Linked DNA regions of Homo sapiens: region 2 is linked to region 1. Evidence: promoter capture Hi-C in human tissues and cell types (Jung and others, 2019). All regions are on one chromosome and are shown on one strand. Each heading gives the region's core, a stretch centred on a gene start or on the middle of the fragment in contact. The rest is flanking DNA. Distances are from core to core; before and after follow the strand shown.

The links. The method cuts DNA at HindIII sites, captures the fragments that hold promoters and counts their contacts. A contact is called where the count stands out against the background at its distance.
Region 2: a contact is called between a fragment that was not itself captured here and the fragment with the promoter of HCAR1 in region 1, in 2 of the 25 tissues and cell types used here (bladder and liver).

The regions. Positions count from the first base shown.
Region 1 is chr12:122,729,369-122,732,522 of GRCh38, reverse strand. It overlaps HCAR1 (hydroxycarboxylic acid receptor 1), which reads left to right and starts at 1,679. Exons shown (of 1, transcript NM_032554.4): 1 at 1,679-3,154. The coding sequence starts at 2,184. RefSeq lists an enhancer at 2,250-2,917. The HindIII fragment of the contact is 12,382 bases long and covers 1-3,154 here.
Region 2 is chr12:122,681,425-122,684,578 of GRCh38, reverse strand. No RefSeq gene overlaps it. Among named protein-coding and RNA genes, the nearest start is that of MIR9902-1, 13 kb to the left of the region's middle. The HindIII fragment of the contact is 5,388 bases long and covers 1-3,154 here.

The DNA.
Region 1 (3,154 bases), core at 430-2,929:
CAGATTGAAGGGAGCTAGTGAAGATTTTTAAGTGAAAAAAGGTATATGATAATATCTGTGCTTCAGAAAAATCAGATTATTGTGTAGAAGATGACTTACAGGAAATAGATGAGAGGAAGGGAAACCAGTTAGGAAACTGTTTCAACAGTTCAGGTGGGAAGTGACTGCGGTCTGTGCTAGGGCGAGGCAGGGGAGAATGTGGGTGGACAGATTTGGAGTCCAGCATCCAGTGGGAAGAATTTAGCTTCAGTGTGCATCTAGAAGACAGACACATTCTTTCAATGCACCCCCTCTTTTCCGCCCCATTTTTTTTTTTTGAGACAGAGTTTCTTTCTGTCACCCAGGCTGGAGTTCATTGGCACGATCTCGGCTCACTGCAACCTCCACCTCCCGGGTTCAAGTGATTCTCCTGCCTCAGCCTCCTGAGTAACTGGGATTACAGACACATGCCACAACACCTGACTGATTTTTGTATATTTTTAGTAGAGATGGGGTTTCACCATGTTGGCAAGGCTGGTCTTGTACTCCTGACCTCAAGTCATCCACCTGCCTCGGCCTCCCAAAGTGCTGGGATTATAGATGTGAGCCACCGCGACTGGCCTCCACCCCATTTTCTTCTTTCTTTCTTTTTTCTTTTTCTTTTTCTTGTTGTTTTGTTTGTTTGTTTGTTTGTTTGTTTTAGACGGAGTCTGGTTCTGTCACCCAGACTGGAGTGCAGTGGCGCAATCTTGGCTCCCTGCAAGCTCTGCCTCCCGGGTTCACGCCATTCTCCTGCCTCAGCCTCCCGAGTAGCTGGGACTACAGGCGCCCGCCACCACGCCTGGCTCATTTTTTTGTATTTTTAGTAGAGACGGGGTTTTACCGTGTTAGCCAGGATGGTCTCCATCTCCTGACCTGGTGATCCGCCCGCCTGGGCCTACCAAAGTGCTTGGATTACAAGCGTGAGCCACCGCGCCCGGCCTCCACCCCATTTTCTAAACTGGAAGCTGAAAGGCACAGGGCAGATTAATAATCCTTAAAGCCAAAGGACAGGAAATTTTAGCAAAGACTCCAATTTTTTGTGCAGTCTAATGTTACTCATGATTGCTTTAGAGATGGACTCCTTAATCAACTCCTCCAATCCTCTTCCGCCCCCAGGGGGCAGTTTTAATTGATGGGCTCAGCACATAATTGAAATTAAAAACGTACATCTCATGGTGTTTGGCTCATTCAACAGCCAATGGAAACTCAGGGCCAAATCTTTGTAAAAGTTCTAGGCTCTGCTTCCCAGCAGAGGGGGAAACCGGCTCCCAAAGAGGCCGTTTTGTGGAGACAGACATATGAGAAGTGGGCTTCAGATCTATTTCATGGTCTTGGTGGTTGTGCAACTGGCCACTTTGGTTCACGGAAGGATGTAAAGGGCAGGGAGGTGGGAATAGAGCGGGGGAAAGGTGACTCCCGTCAAAGAATTTTTCTAACATCCATCAAGTATCGTGATTAGAACTTTTCTCTCCGCAGACTCCTCCAATTTTTGAGCGCGGTATTTTTCGGCACAGGAAATGGCCCGGAGGAGCTGCAGAGCAAAGCCTCCCCTCTCTGGCACCGCATGGGAGTGCCCCGTGGGATGAGGGAGAGGACAAGGCAGTCAGGCAAAGGTTACGGGAGGAAAGCAAAGGCAGGAGCCCAGAACCACTCCAGGAAATGTTTGGATTTCTCCACCAGGAGGGAGGACAAACAAGCTTTCTTCTTGCCTTCTGGGCAGCTTTGTGTGCTCTCCAGCACGGAGTCCGAGGAGGAACAGCGAAGCTGAAAATGAAAATTACTCTGGCGCTGGACCCAATCGCTCCTCTACGGCATCAATCTCATCGGACCCCCCCACCCTACCGCCTCTCAGAAATGACCACTTTTGCAAAATTGCATGCATTTCCAAGCTTCATCCGGCTCCAGGCTTGGCCTCTCCCAGAGGCAGGCGGCTTGTGAGACGGGCTCCAGAGAAAGGACCTCCCTGGGTCTCTCATTTCCTGGCTGAAGTTTCTCTTCTCGCTGCTGTGGCAGCATCCAACCCACACACACAGGACCCGCATCCTGGGTGATGAAGTCAGACACGCAGCAGCTGGGTGAGTGCTAACGCTCAGATAAGCATCTGTGCCATTGTGGGGACTCCCTGGGCTGCTCTGCACCCGGACACTTGCTCTGTCCCCGCCATGTACAACGGGTCGTGCTGCCGCATCGAGGGGGACACCATCTCCCAGGTGATGCCGCCGCTGCTCATTGTGGCCTTTGTGCTGGGCGCACTAGGCAATGGGGTCGCCCTGTGTGGTTTCTGCTTCCACATGAAGACCTGGAAGCCCAGCACTGTTTACCTTTTCAATTTGGCCGTGGCTGATTTCCTCCTTATGATCTGCCTGCCTTTTCGGACAGACTATTACCTCAGACGTAGACACTGGGCTTTTGGGGACATTCCCTGCCGAGTGGGGCTCTTCACGTTGGCCATGAACAGGGCCGGGAGCATCGTGTTCCTTACGGTGGTGGCTGCGGACAGGTATTTCAAAGTGGTCCACCCCCACCACGCGGTGAACACTATCTCCACCCGGGTGGCGGCTGGCATCGTCTGCACCCTGTGGGCCCTGGTCATCCTGGGAACAGTGTATCTTTTGCTGGAGAACCATCTCTGCGTGCAAGAGACGGCCGTCTCCTGTGAGAGCTTCATCATGGAGTCGGCCAATGGCTGGCATGACATCATGTTCCAGCTGGAGTTCTTTATGCCCCTCGGCATCATCTTATTTTGCTCCTTCAAGATTGTTTGGAGCCTGAGGCGGAGGCAGCAGCTGGCCAGACAGGCTCGGATGAAGAAGGCGACCCGGTTCATCATGGTGGTGGCAATTGTGTTCATCACATGCTACCTGCCCAGCGTGTCTGCTAGACTCTATTTCCTCTGGACGGTGCCCTCGAGTGCCTGCGATCCCTCTGTCCATGGGGCCCTGCACATAACCCTCAGCTTCACCTACATGAACAGCATGCTGGATCCCCTGGTGTATTATTTTTCAAGCCCCTCCTTTCCCAAATTCTACAACAAGCTCAAAATCTGCAGTCTGAAACCCAAGCAGCCAGGACACTCAAAAACACAAAGGCCGGAAGAGATGCCAATTTCGAACCTCGGTCGCAGGAGTTGCAT
Region 2 (3,154 bases), core at 443-2,942, 48 kb after region 1:
CAGCAGAGAAATTCAACTTTAGAATAAAGTAGAATAACATTAAGGACAGATAAGGACAGATGGACTTTTCATAGGCAAACATTGCCCAACCGCTGCTTCTCTCTCCACTGACCTTTTGTTTAATGATGGGAACAAATCACAAAATCCACTAAAAAAAAAATCTTTTTGGCCAGGCGAGATGGCTCATGCTCGTAATCCCAGCATTTTGGGAGGCCAAGGCAGGAGGATCCCTTGAGCTCAGGCATTTGAAACCAGCCTGAGCAATATAGTGAGATCTTGTCTCTTCTGAAAATAAAACAAAATTAGCTGGGCATAGTGGTGCACATCTGTGGTCCCAACTACTTGAGGGGTTGAGATGGGAGGATCGCTTGAGGTGATGGTGGGGAGGTAGGTCAAGGCTGCAGTTAGCTATGATTGCACTCCAGCCTGGGTGACAGTGAGACCCTGTCTCAATGAAATGAAATGAAATAAAATAATTAAAAAATTTAAAAAGTGAATGAGATAAAAAAAAAAAATCGCACTGGTCTCTAGGGTTCCCATAGAGGCTGAACACTGATATTTTAGTCAAGATTTCAGGCCAGGCTCACGCCTGTAATCTCGACACTTTGAGAGACTGAGGTGGGAGGATTGCTTGAGCCCAGGAGGTCAAGGATACAGTGAGCTATGATTGCACCACTGCACTCCGGCCTGGGAGACAGAGTGAGACCCTATCTCCCCTGCAAAAAAAAGTTGAACTTTTTTTAAAAATTATTTTTTATTTTGCCTTGCTGTTCGTGAGCTGTATCAAAAAAAATTTTTTTTTTCTTTTGAGACAGAGTCTCGCTCTGTCACCAGCCTGGAGTGCAGTGGTGCCATCTTGGTTGGCTCACTGCATCCCAGGTTCAAGCGATTCTCCTGCCTCAGCCTCCCGAGTAGCTGGGATTACAGGTATGCGCCACCACACCCAGCTAATTTTGTATTTTTAGTAGAAATCGGGTTTATCCATGTTGGTCAGGCTGGTCTCGAACTCCTGACCTCAGGTAATCTGCCCACCTCGGCCTCCCAAAATCCTGGGATTACAGGCGTGAGACACTGCACCCGGCCATAATTTTTGTGTTTTTAGTAGAGATACCTGGGGTTTCATCACGTTAGCCAGGATGGTCTTGATCTCTTGATCTCGTGATCTGCTCGCCTCGGCCTCCCAAAGTGCTGGGATTACAGGCGTGAGCCACCGCGCCCAGCCAAAAAACATTTTTTTTAGACGGAGTCTTGCTTTGTCACCCAGGCTGGAGTGCAGTGGCATGATCCCGGCTCACTGCAACCTCCGCCTCCTAGGTTCAAGTGATTCTCCTGCTTCAGCCTCCCGAGTAGCTGGGATTACAGGCACTGGTCTCAAACTCCTGACCTCAAGTGATCCACCTGCCTCGGCTTCCCAAAGTGCTGGGATTACAGGTGTGAGCCACTGTGCCCAGCCTGTATCAAAAAATTTTTAAACAAAACTGCAAAAATTATTGTAGCCAACCCAGAAAAAAACTCTCCTCAATATTATCTGTTATTATGTCTAATAAAGAATATTCACATAAAGCTCCTAAGAATTATCTTTCTTTGCTTTTTTTATTTTTTCTAAGAGATGGGATCTCCCGGTATTGCCCAGGCTGGTCTCATGCTCCTGGCTTCAAGTGATCCTCCCTGTCCTGGGCTCCCAAAGTTCTGGGATTACAGGCATGAGCTACCATGCCCAGCTCCATCTTTCTAAAACAAAAACTGAATTATGTTTCTTTTCTGCCTCAAAACCCTTCAATCATCAACGACAACAAAAAGTTCAAACCCCCCAGCATGGCTTTCACTCCCAGGCTACATGACCATTCACTCTCTGGCTGGCAGAGGTGAAGAAAAATGGCCTTTGGAATCAGATGTCTCTGGGTTGAAATTTTAGCTTGACCACTCTTTGGGTGGGTTCTGAGAACCCAAAGAAAGTGAGAGAGGCCTATGACTATTTCAGCTCTTGAAACTTCTGGTATTTTTTTTCCATTGAGATATTAATTCACCTACTATAAAATTCCTCCTTAAGCAAAATTGGGGCTGGGCATGGTGGCTCACGCCTGTAATCCCAGCACTTTGGGAGACTGAGGCAGGTGGATCGCTTGAGGTCAGGATTTCAAGACCAGCCTGGCCAACATGGCGAAACTCTGTCTCTACTAAAAATACAAAAATTAGCCAGGAGTGGTGGTGCACGCCTGTAATCCCAGCCACGTAGGAAGCTGAGCACAAGAATTGCTTGAACCCAGGAGGCAGAGGTTGCAGTGAGCCAAGATTGCACCACTGCACTCCAGCCTGGGTGACAGAGTGAGACTCTGTCTCAAAATGAAAAACAAAACAAAACAAAACAAAACAAAACAAAACAAAACAAAACAAAAGGTCATGTTTGCCTGTAGAATACTTTCTTACATGCAGGAGACTTTCTCTTAGACACACGCCTGGAGGCGTCTGAGAGGGACAGGCTGGGCTCACCAATTCGAACTTCTGCCAATGCCCTGCATGTCTCTCTCACTAAGAGCTAAGCCAAGACTTCCCCTGTCATCACCACTGCCTGTGGTCAGTCCTCTATTACCAACAGAGGGAAACAGAATGCAATTGAGGAGAACCAACTAATTGCGAAAGCAAAGCCTGAGAAACCCCATGAGTGATGGATCCACCAATTCTGGTGGCCACAGGGAGGTCCCTGGTGTCTGGCTGCATGCTGGCCATGGTGACCAGGTGTCCTTGGGCAGGAGATGGCTTCAAATGCAGACCGGAGTCCTAGCGATCCAAGTGGTTCTTTGAGAAACCAAAACACCACAAAGCTCCCCCTGGACTGTACCATTGAGCTCTCAATCACAATTCAGCCGAGGACATTGTCTTAGTCCACCAGGGCTGCCATGACACGGTACCATGGGCTGCATGGCTTACAAACAACAGTTCATTTCCCATGGTTGTGGAGGCTGGAAGTCCAAGATCAAGGCGGCAGCAGATTCAGCGTCCGAGGAGGATGGTGAGGACCTGCCACCTGATGCATAGATTTCCTCTCTGTGTCCCCACACAGCACAAGGGAGAAGGGAGCTCTCTGGGGGCCTCTTTGATTAGGGCATGACTCCCATTCCTAAGGGCTGCACCCTGATGACCCGATCGCCTCTCA